2 separate regions of the Homo sapiens genome follow, and region 1 is linked to region 2. Evidence: promoter capture Hi-C in 16 types of primary human blood cells and fetal thymus (Javierre and others, 2016). All regions are on one chromosome and are shown on one strand. Each heading gives the region's core, a stretch centred on a gene start or on the middle of the fragment in contact. The rest is flanking DNA. Distances are from core to core; before and after follow the strand shown.

Region 1 (5,802 bases), core at 2,315-4,814, 1.2 Mb before region 2:
TTCAAATGCTTGTTTCTTTTTGTTTATTTGTTTTGGGTTTTTTAAAATTTTTATCTGTTTAAGATGACAGAGTCTCGTTCCATTGCCCAGGCTGGAGTGCAGTGGCACAACCTTGGCTCACTGCAACCTCTGCCTCCTGGCTTCAAACAATTCTCGTGCCTCAGCCTCCCTAGTACCTGCTGGGATTACAGGTGCACACCACCACACCCAGCTAATTTTTCTATTTTTAGTAGAGATGGGGTTTAATCATGTTGGCCAGGCTGGTCTCGAACTCCAGGTGAAATGCCCACCTGGGCCTCCTAAAGTGCTGAGATTACAGGCTGAGCTACCAGGCCTGGCTCCTCATATGGGTTTTAAATGTATATCTAATTCTTATTTCTTCTTTGCTTCTCTTTTTGATGACTGAATCATCTAAGTGAAATAAGACAGACACATTGTGCAAATATTGTATAATTTCATTTATATGAGATACCTACATTGTCAAATTCATAGAGACAGAAAGTACAATGGTTACCAGGAGCTGGGAGGAGGGGAAACCAAGAAGAAACACTTGGTTTCTGTTTAGTCATCTCTTACCAGGCTTGAACTTAACCTCAGATCAGCTGAGTCTGGGTGGTCTAAATCTACATAATTAATTGAAAAGTAATAATAGCTTGACAATAACACTTACTGAGTACATACGAAGTGCCAGGCTTAAGTGTCAGACATGATCTACGTCAAGAAACAGTTTTAGGCAGATTTACAAATGCCATATTAGTTTACTATCCTCTACTATCTATTTGCTCTCAAAAGCAAGTAAACAAAGCCCACATATCCCATTCCAGAATCAGGAAAACAAAGAGACATTTCTCTGTGCCAAAGAGCCTGTCAGCCAATAATATTTGCGAAGCTTACCACGCAGCTTACGGTGTCATGTGTTATGAAGTGGAAATTTCTGGACAGGCTATATTTCAATCCATTACATTTGTTTATGAAAACAGGCTTGCAGGTATTGCTGATCTTTTATATAGAAAGTCTATTCTCTAGGAAAGAATCTGGTTCAGTTAATTATGATGGAGAGAATCATGCATGGAAACAACAGTTCAAAACCGACAGTAAACCCACCTCAAAGCAAAAGCATTTCTGGTTTTTCTCAAGTAGCTGTGTTAATGTGGCATAAGAGAAAGCCTGACTAGCAGGTATAATTAAAGTATGAATCATAGGAATAAGCATGAGTAACTATGAAAACACCTACAAGAAATAAGCCCATTATAACATGATAAACTTTAGGGAATCATGAGTGAAGGGTAGGAGAAAAAATCCTAATTCCATGTAAATGCAATGATGGGCCTGAGTGGAAACATATTGATAAACAATAGCATCAATGTATTATTAGTACAGCATCTGTGTGAGGCTGTGGAACACAGCATATTCTGCCTTATGCTTTATGGGTACTTATTTTCCACATTTCCTTTTTCTGAGAACTGCTTGAGGTCACGGATAATGCTTCTGTCTTTTTATAGAAATCACTTCCCCACCCAGACCTTAGTAATGTAGACAGTAGACATAAAACATATCATTACATACATGAATGGGCAAATGATAACCTGTATCATAGAATGTACAATACATCTGCCCTGGCATGTAACACTTTTAAAGAAAACTAAACATTGACATCCAACATATTAAATGCAACTTATGAAACACCAATGATGCATTTTTAAAGACTTAATCACAGTACGATGATTTAATGAAAAACAAGAAGAGAATGTTATATTTTATCGTTTCGTATCTCAGCAGTTTGGCACTGGATTCAGTTGATAGGAACAGCAACATGGCAAAAGTTGAAAGGAAACTGTTTGGCCTGGGTGATTTTTTGTCTTTCAGGCAGAGTAATGAGTAAATACAAAATCACCTCTGGTGAGACACAGTCCACTGGTGTTTATGTCATGTCATTTCATTAACTGACAAACAGAATTACTGCCTCTCCCTTCCCCAAACCTGCAAAAGAAAAAAAAAATTGAAGAGTATTTAGTTAACAAAAACAAATTTAACACTTGGAGTTAAAATGGCTCTAATAGTGACTGGTCATTTTGCCAATATGGGGCCAAAGATGTGAATATGGATGGAAGGTGTTTTGAGATGGAGTCGTTCTGTCACTCAGGCTGGAGTGCGGTGGAGTAATCTCGTAATCTCGGCTCATGGCAATCGCCGCCTCCCGGATTCCAGTGACTCTCCTGCCTCAGCCTCCCAAGTAGCTGGGACTACAGGCGTGCGCCACCAGGCCCAGCTAATTTTTGTATTTTTTAGTAGAAACTGGGTTTCACCGTGTTGGCCAGTATGGTCTCCAACTCCTGACCTCAAGTGATTCTCCTGCATCAGCCTCCCAGAATGCTGGTATTACAGGCGTTAAGTCACTGCGCCTGGCCCATACTGTTTACATTATCTTATCTGTTTTAGGTTTACATGTTATTTTTAATGTTCCTGTACATTTAAAAAATTGAAACCAAGAATCTTGACTGGCTCTGAAACTTAATTGGGAAAAATGTAAAGCACTTTAGTGGAATTTTTCCCATGATCTGTAGAATAGTTTTTAAACAGATGGTTCATATGGACAAAGCAATGAAAATGCAGAAATTAAAAGCAGATCCTTAAGAACAATATCCGAGTTCTCAGAAATCCTATAGATGATGTCAGGACGAGATGTAAAGCAGTCGTTTCTTTTGCTGTCAAGGTTTTAAGAGAACAGAAATTTATTAGGTGAACCTCCACCGGAGGAAGGATAAAGCCTGTGGGTAGGAGTTAACTATTTATTTCAAACTCCAGTCCACTTCAACAATTTGAAAATTTTCCCGCTCCTAGGACAATTCCATCCAGGTGCCAATAGGAGATACTACTATTGTGATGCAAATAGGTATTCTACTAGAAGTAGGAGCACGTAAGCAGAGTGAGGATGACTTGAAAAATCGTCCCACCTTCCCAGCTATGGAGTGGGGGCAGGGGGAAGAAACACCTCCAGGCTGGATCATTGAAGCTGAGGGGTGGGAGAGCGACGGGACAATTTTTCAACGTGGAATTCAAATGCATTCGGTGGGGAAGTGTGAAGTAAAATCTAAACGAACGCTAGACAGTAGTATCTTCCATCTACGCTTCAAAATACTCAGACTTTAGGGAAACTTAACGTTGGTTTTTCTCCCAGAGAATTGTAGGGAGTGGGTGGAGGGGACACTGTTAGGGGAGGTATATTGGGAGTCAGATCCTTTTGTGGAGCGAGGGACCCCGAAGTGTCACCAAGGGCTAGCCGAAACCAGGGGCCCAAGAGGGGACAGGGCTAACACCCCAGCCAAGGCCGGAGCGCAAGCGCGGGGCTGCAGCGCGGGGAGCCCTGGAGCCCAGTGCGGGCGGACGGGTGGGGCAGGAGGGCAAAGGGGCGAAGGGGCGGGGTGGCGCTGGGTGGGAGCGCGGCGGCGGGGAGGAGGGTCTGGGAGCCCGGGTGCGATTTGCAAGCGCTCTGAGCCTGCGTCCGCCGAGGGGGAGGGTTTCCCCAGCCCGGCCGGAGTTGCGGCTGTGCGCTGCTTCTGGCTCACAACGCCGACGACTGTCAAGAGAGTTGGGGAGTGGAACTGCCGGAAGTGTCTGCGCGCCGTGAGAGAAACTTTCCTGCTCCGGCCGCGGCCCGGAGCCTCGCCGCCCCCGCGTTCCGAACGACGATGCGTCCAGATGACAACAACCTGAGGGGACTCGCGCCTCGGCCCGCCGCCCGCGCCTGCGCTCGCCTAGCCTCGGGGGAGGAAGACTGAGCCCGGCGCAGGCGGCGCGGCGCTCGGGGCCCGTTTCCTCCGCGCAATCAGTCCCCTCGCGTCCCGGCGCCTTCCCCGCGATCGCGCGACCCCAGCGCCCGCCGCGGCCGCCGGCTGCCCCCGCCCTGACCTCCGGCCCGGACGTGTCCGCGGCCGCCGCTGGCAGCGCCTGTGCCATGGGGCTGCCCACTCTGGAGTTCAGCGATTCCTACTTGGACAGCCCAGATTTCAGGGAGCGCTTGCAGTGTCACGAGATTGAGCTGGAGCGAACCAACAAGTTCATCAAGGAGCTCATTAAGGACGGCTCTCTGCTCATTGGGGCGTTGAGGAGTAAGTAGGGCTGGCGGGGGAGTGGACACCCGCATCTGGAGAGTCCCCGCGGGGTGCGGGTCCGAAGGGTGGGTTGGAGGAGTCGGAGCTTCTTTTGTTTGAATGGATTTGGGGACAAAAGCTGAAGAGCTCCCCTGCTGGTGGCCAACAAAGTTTGTTCTTGAGGTGTTCTTTACTTACTCACATGTCTACAGGGATGGGGAAAGTTCTCTACAGGGCACTGGAATATATCCTGAGGAAAGTCGTTCAAAGTCATCTCGTTGTGTAATGCTCCTAGGAAGATGTTGGGGACTTTAATTTTTTTTTTTTAATTTATTGTGTCTATTAATAGTTTGAACTAAAAAAGCCCTTAAGGGGGGAATCAAGAGTTTGTCTTAAAGATAAAATTAGGCTAGTTTAGTGATATTGAAAGAAAATTATTAATGTCTCTCATACGTCAGTGGCTCTTCATTGGACACAGTCATTGAGTTGGCTTTTTAAAAAGCATACATTTGCAGTTTTGCCATTTTGTAAGATAATGGAAGACAGCAAGGCACCAGTGCATTTTAACTCTGCAAGTTTTCTGTGCGTCTTAGTTTTGGTTTGCATTGTGTGGGTGTTGGGTGTGTCATTGGGATGAAAGTTAAGGGGTTAAAGGCCAATCAGAACTTTTGATGATCTGTAGAATATAAAGACTGTTATAGTCTATAATATAGGGCTTCTTCCACCTCCTTTCCCATACACCTCTTGATCAAATTTTCCTTCCTCCTTTTATCCTCTGGATCTTAGCTTTCAATTCCTAAGACCTAAGAGTATCTGAAACTGAAGAGTTTCTCTTACAGAGAATTGAGCACAATTACATGATATGGCTTGTTACCTTTCCCAGGAGGTATTTGCATCTTTTAAAAAATTTATTTTTATTTATTTATGTATTTATTTATTTTCCATCTTCAAAGGAGCCTGTGAAAAGTATTTGCATCTTAATAGAGGCTTCTGGATGTTTTAGCTACTGAAATGAAGCCGTGGAATCTCTGGTCACTTAAAGCTGGGTGAGTGAGGTACTTTCAAAAGGTAGAGAGACCTTTGGGTGATCTAGTTACCCCCAGGACATATATGGGGGCATCATCTTTGTATAACAACATGATAGGGATGTGTGCGCCTAAAACTGAGACAATACTAGTATCGGATCTATATTTTGAAACATGTATTAACAGTAAGGAGAGAGCTTAGCAAGATGTCTTGAAATTAATGTGCTCCAAAATATCTTTTAATCATCCCAAATGTTAAAACATTTACTTAACCACTTGTGTTACTTAACCAAGGTAAAGATAATATATTTTATGCCCATATTCACTTAATTTCTGAATTTGAGGCTACTACTAATAATGGTATTTACTGTGATTTGTGAAAAATATAGTTTGTCTGCAATTCTTGCCACCCTACATAAACACTAATGTGAACTGTCCTTCCTCTGGCTTGCAAATCCTGGTTAAAGTCTCGCGGGACTAACCTCTTTGCATCTAAGAGAGCATGATGCCTCTTCAAAAAGAGCTGCATCTCAGAGTGTCAAATGCCAAGCCAGTTCTTGTTGGAGGTGCCAGATATTCTACATTTTTCTCCCCGCTCTGCTTGAGATAAACTTTAGTGTTTCAGAAGGTCAAAATACTTACATACCTGTGATAAATGCTCTGACATGTACATTATATTACGAGTG
Region 2 (5,938 bases), core at 1-2,500:
GCTGAAGTGAAGGATGCTGGCGGGGAGGCCCGGAACCCGGAGCGCGGTCGGGGAACTGGGCACTGAATCATCGGACAACCTCGACAGAGCCCCCCTCGGCCCTCGGGAGAGCGGCGGGCATCACCGACCTGGCTCTTACCTGTATCCTTCCCAGCCTGTGGCTGCCAGGGTAGCGATGTTGAAAACGGGGCCCATCTTTTTCCAATTAGATTCCCATTACCTTTGACGCAGGGTGATCAAAACTAGCAAGTCATCTTAGTGCAGATATTTCCTTTAGCAACTGTCGTGTCTCACCTTAGACCTGAAATTATACCATTTTATCTAATTCTGTGGCTGCTTCCCCCCATCACCCTGTTATCCTACTCCCATTCTTCAACTTTGTAAAATTTTTGTGAATTTTAAAACACATCAACTGTGTATTCTGTGGGGATATTTTTATGCCATTATGTTCTTTACTTACATATTAACTACTTCCTGATTTATCGTACTACTTGGAGAGAGAAATTACACAAATAAGTAAAATGTTTTGCTATCCTAAAGAGTCCGTTTTAACAGTTATCCTAACACAGCCCTAAATGCATTTACCAGAGCTGCTAAAGGCTACACAGTTTGGTAAGTTGTTTTGTTTTCCATCTCTGCCCAGTCTGTTGTCAGAGCGACAGAAAAGAGGAAATGAGAAACAGGGGACCTGGACGCTTTACAATCTGGATTAACTCTGACTTTTCTCGAAGAGTTGGTTAAGCCTACCTTTGATGTTGCTGTTGGTTGCATTGTAGAAAATGGAAAGAGGAGAAGTATTTTGTTATCAAAATCTGTAAATCAGGTTTATTCCTTTAGAGACTGTTGTGATGATTAGGATTTAACCTTTGTATTCCCAAAGGACTTGGTTGGCAATGATGGTGTTGTGTAATCATCTTCAGTCTTGTCAGAGATGAGTGTCTTCTCTTTCCAAGTTAACTCTGTTTTCTTATCCCCTTTGTCTCCAATTTCTAGGATGTTCTTTGTACTCTGTTACAATTTTAGCAGCAAGTCAACAATTTGTATTGAGTGCCTGCTCTTTGGCTGACTCTGTTCTAGGTTCTAGGGATACAAATCTAGTGAGGAAGACAAATGTGTATAGAGCTTCACTAAAAGTAAAATATCTCTTCTCCGATCATGCTTTCTGCAATCTTCCATCCCTTCAGTCTTTTCTTTCTTTGGGCAGGTTCTCAAAATGGTAGCTTGCAATAGCTGCTTCTAGTTCCTCTCATCTATTCATTATTAACCCCATTCAGTTTGGCTTTTGCCCTTGCTGCTCCCCAAAATTGCCCTCTTAAAGGTTACTCTGAAATGAACACAATCATTTTCTGTATGGATTTAATTCTGGCCTCTTGACATTATATTTTCTTGGACACAACTGCTATTACACGACCCTGATTTATCTCTAAATCAGAAAATAGGGAAGTATTGTAAATGGCTCATTGAGAGTGTATTTTCTGTTATTTTCATTAATAAAATGGTTGTAGGCCTCATTTTTTAAATTTTATGTGGTATAAATTTTTGATACAAATGCCAAAGAAAATATTCATAAATAGAATCCAGCAATACTTTGAATGAACACAACCAAATAGACTCTATTCCAGAATTAGAATGACATTTCCTATAAAGAAATACAACACTAAAAAAGATCCTTAAAGGCTAAATATATAGTTAAAATTAGGCAAGTTATAAATGAACATTTTAATAGATGACCAATAGACTTTGATAAAATCCAACAATGTGTGTGTGTGTGTGTGTGTGTGTGTGTGTGTGTGTGTGTGTGTGTGCTGGTTTATATATATTTTTGCTAGTTTGCATATGTGTGTATATATATGTTTAGATAATATATATTTAAATTGGAACAGAGGAATTATTTTTGAACATAATAAAGATTATAACACTAAATCAAGAACATTATGTTTGCTAGCTGGAAAAACACTAAAGTACCTTTTATATAAGTTTAATTGGAATGTTCTTTGTGTCTATAATGTTTCCCATTGGATACCTAGCACAGAGTAGGTGCTCAAATTTACATGACTAAATGAAAAAAAGGAAAGAAAGCAAATGAAAGGACCACAGCCTTAAAATAAGCAAGTATGTGGTAACATTTACATTTCAATTTCAAATATGAACATGATACTCAGAGGCCATCTGGCTTTCTGTTGAAGACATTTTCTCACTGGAGTCAGAATTTTCTGACTCTAAAGGTTATAAAACAACAAAACCTTATGAAGTTTATTTAATTAAAATTAGCTAAAGTTCTGTCATTTCAATCTCTTTTTCTCTTTTGAGAGTTCAAATAGAAATGGAATTTAAAAAAAAAAAAAAAAGGAAGGTCTCTCATGTCCCCTTATACCTGCCTTTTTTTCCTCATAAATATCTCTACCCTTCAACCCTCCCATTTTATCCTAGCACCCACCTTGCCTCTCCTTTCCTCTCCAGTTTATACCCTATTCTTAACTATTTGAACTTTCTCTCACCAACATCTTTGGCTATTTGTACCCCAATCATTCTGCCTCAGCCACTCAATAACTACTATAGTCCTGCTCCTTTACTCCTTCATGCGAATAATAAAAATGCTGTCAAAGAAAAATCACAAAACAATACAGATTGTACCACTAAAGATTGATGGTTTCCAGCTTCACCTAAACAGGAACAGGGTTCTTTCTTTTTCCTATGAATGCCTCTGCCAGGTCTCTGTCACCTTCCATCACACTCGATAGACTGTCTTACCACTTGATAAGACTTGGATGCCCTGACAGGTCTGTTCCAACAAACAGCACAAACACACACACTCCCACCCACCTGTCTTTTTTTCCCCCCAGGCTCACTGATGGGATCTTACTTTTACTATAGAAAGTGAAGTGAACCCATTCAGCTGGGCCCAGTGGCTCACATCTGTAATCCTAGCACTTTGGGAGGCCGAGGTAGGCAGATTGCTTGAGTCCAGGAGTTCGAAACCAGCCTGGGCAACGTGGTGAAACCATATCTCTACAAAAAATACAAAAATTAGCTGTGTGTTGTGGTGCATGCTTGTAGTACCATCTACTTAAGAGGCTGAGGCAGGAAGATTGCTTGAGACTGCGAGGTGGAGGTTGCAGTGAGCCGAGATTATGCCACTGCACTCCAGCCTAGGCAACAGAGTGAGACCCTGTCTATAAATAAATAAATAAATTGTATTTTGCTAATACATACATAATAAAACATAGTTTTGTACCTTGTGTTTCTAAAAGGTACTGCCCCATGCTCATGAGATTTTGAAACTTAGGTACATAATACATTTCTAATGGCATATACTTTTGTATAACCCCCTTAGGAGCCAAGTTTTCTATAATGCACTAAAAGATATAAAAATGCATATGCCTTTTGTCCTCATATCTACCCCAGAGAATTTTCTCCAAGGGAATAATTCAGGAGGTTTTTATTAAATCATTACTATATTCTAAGAACCATGCCAGGCGTGAGAGTTACAGAAATGTAGAGAAGACACTTATCATGTACTCATGAAGGTGTCATCAAGTCATCTAGTGGAGGTTAGAAAAGGCTTCAAGGTAGAACGAACTGCTTGAGATGGCCCTGAAAGGATGAGTAGAGTTAGCCAAGCATGTGCCAAGAGATAATGGTATGATACATCACGGGTTGTTCTGTTTATAATTATCTTAGTGCGTCTGGACATAGGATTCATACAGGGAAATGTTAAGAAATAAAGTTGAAAAAACAAACTATATTATAGAATGGTTTATATATAGGTCCAAGAACTTTGGAATTTTTCATGAAGGTGATAGGGAGCTTTTGGAGAACAACAAAGAGAAACACAATCAGATTTGCATTTAGCTGACTTTGTGTAGGTTCAAATAGAGGTTTAGAGTAAGAAGAATTAGAGGAGCACTGTAGTCGTCCAAGCAAGGGATTTAGAGTACCTGAGTTAAGGGAGAGGAAGAAGGTACAGTAGAGGAAAAATCGAATCAACATAGCTTTAATAGATTTGGGGAAAAAATGGGTTATATAATACATAGTTATTTGTGATGGCAACATTTTAAACAACCTAACTGGATAAAAGACTAAGTTGGGAGAGGAGAAGTGAGGATAGAGTGGGGTAGAATAAGCTATGCTTTAAAATCACATGTTACAATACATATTATTCTTGGTTTTGTTTTTTTAATGTTAAGTATATAAAAATTCCCTTCTTTTGGACAGGTATTTAGCAGTGTTTTTTTTATGGAACTCCTACCTTTACCATACAGCTTGTATAAAAAAACAAAATTTAACCAGCCATCTAATTTTTTTAAACTTGAATACCATATTTGAAATGATACAAAAGCAGCAGGATTCTTTATATTAATAATTAATAATTCAGCAGGAAACATACTATACTATTATACTTATATATAAAGAAAGTAGAAAATCATTTGGTTAAATTGAAGACTATATAGTTGTCAGAACATTACAAACATTACATTTGTGATTTTCTTTATGCTGTCGTGATGAGACTTCAAACATGTCAAACAGAGAACAGAACTGTCTCCTCCTTGCTTCTCACTTAAGCCAAAGCATCTTCCTCCCCTCAACCTCATGTTGGCCCTGTGCACCCTGAAAGGAAGTTGCACTTTTCTTTACTGCCGAGTTGTCACTTTTAATACCTAGACATCTTGTTGAAGTCTGGCTCTTGTTAAAATATTCTATCAGAGAAAAACAGTTTTTCTGTGCTAGCAAAGAACCAAATTTTCTTCCCTTTTGGTTTGATTTTTATAAATCCTTTAAAAGAAATCTTTAAGTAAAAATATGTTTGTGAGTGTGTTTGGGTCTTTGTCTTGAAGTAGTGTAAAATTTTATTTAAAATGAAGGTAAAATGAATTATGGCCTATGGTATAAAGATGGTTAAATAGCAACACAAAAGAAAACAAATAAGCCCCCATCAGCAAAGGTCTAAACAACAAAATGTTCAAATAAACCTGTTATTCTGAAATATGTAATAATAGAGTTTCTTTATAATATTGATGCTGAAGCACTATAGGATCCTGAAATTAACATGTTGAATTAACAAATTATGTACCGCATAGTTTATTATTGAGTGTATTTCTAGTATTCTGTTTTACCATTAATAATCAATTTATGAGATTTTTACAATCTTGATTAAATGCAGCCTTTAAAGAGAATTTTGGACCTCCATCTTAGCGTAAAAAGTTTTTAAACAAGCTGTTTGTTCTAAAAAAGACAAATAGATATGCCCTACAATCTATAACTTCAGTATAATCTCATATATTTCTACATCTAATGATGAGGTACTAAATGTGATTACACGGTAATTCAATGAACTTTTTTTTTTTTTTTTGAGACAGAGTCTCGCTGTGTTGCCCAGGCTGGAGTATAGTGGCGTGTTCTTAGCTCACTGCAGACTCAACCCCCTCCAAGCTCAAGCGATCTTCCCACATCAGCCTCCCAAGTAGCTGGGGCTGCAGGCATACACCACCACACCTGGCTGATTTTTGCATTTTTTGTAGAGCCGGGGTTTCACCATATTGCCCAGGCTCATCTCAAACTCCTGGGCTCAAGCAGTCTGCCCACCTTGGCCTCCCAAATTGTTGGGATTACAGGTGTGAGCCACTGCGCCCAGCCAAATGAACTTCTTTTAATTCAAAATCATTAAAAACAGAAGACTCATGAAAAACAGAAAATTACTCTGACAAATTTGATAAAGATACTTAATAATGTCAATTAAAACGCAACTAAATAAATTGGAGAAATTACTCATATTGCTACAACTTATTTAAGGAGAGTTTAATTTTATAAAATAAATTTCAAGTGAATAGATGATTAGGATAACCAAAATATTCCTCTTTTTCTCTGACAAGCTTCTGGATACACAGATGACTATACATAGTTTTCCTAGTGGTTTTTTATAACCACTAAGTCACTAAGT

What was found. The method cuts DNA at HindIII sites, captures the fragments that hold promoters and counts their contacts. A CHiCAGO score of 5 or more calls a contact.
Region 1: the fragment with the promoter of ARHGAP42 here is called in contact with the fragment with the promoter of ANGPTL5 in region 2 in 1 of 17 cell types (total B cells); the score reaches 5.7 in total B cells.

Annotation. Positions count from the first base shown.
Region 1 is chr11:100,683,724-100,689,525 of GRCh38, forward strand. ARHGAP42 (Rho GTPase activating protein 42) reads left to right here and starts at 3,565. Exons shown (of 24, transcript NM_152432.4): 1 at 3,565-4,109. The coding sequence starts at 3,956. ARHGAP42-AS1 (ARHGAP42 antisense RNA 1) reads right to left here and starts at 4,232. Exons shown (of 2, transcript NR_133571.1): 1 at 3,910-4,232; 2 at 438-1,980. RefSeq lists silencers at 2,935-3,229, 3,280-3,469, 3,770-3,939 and enhancers at 3,166-3,876, 3,590-3,639, 3,960-4,329. The HindIII fragment of the contact is 7,960 bases long and covers 888-5,802 here.
Region 2 is chr11:101,915,272-101,921,209 of GRCh38, forward strand. It overlaps ANGPTL5 (angiopoietin like 5), which reads right to left and starts at 1,251. Exons shown (of 9, transcript NM_178127.5): 1 at 748-1,251. It overlaps CEP126 (centrosomal protein 126), which reads left to right. Exons shown (of 11, transcript NM_020802.4): 1 at 1-141. The coding sequence starts at 14. The HindIII fragment of the contact is 9,032 bases long and covers 1-5,868 here.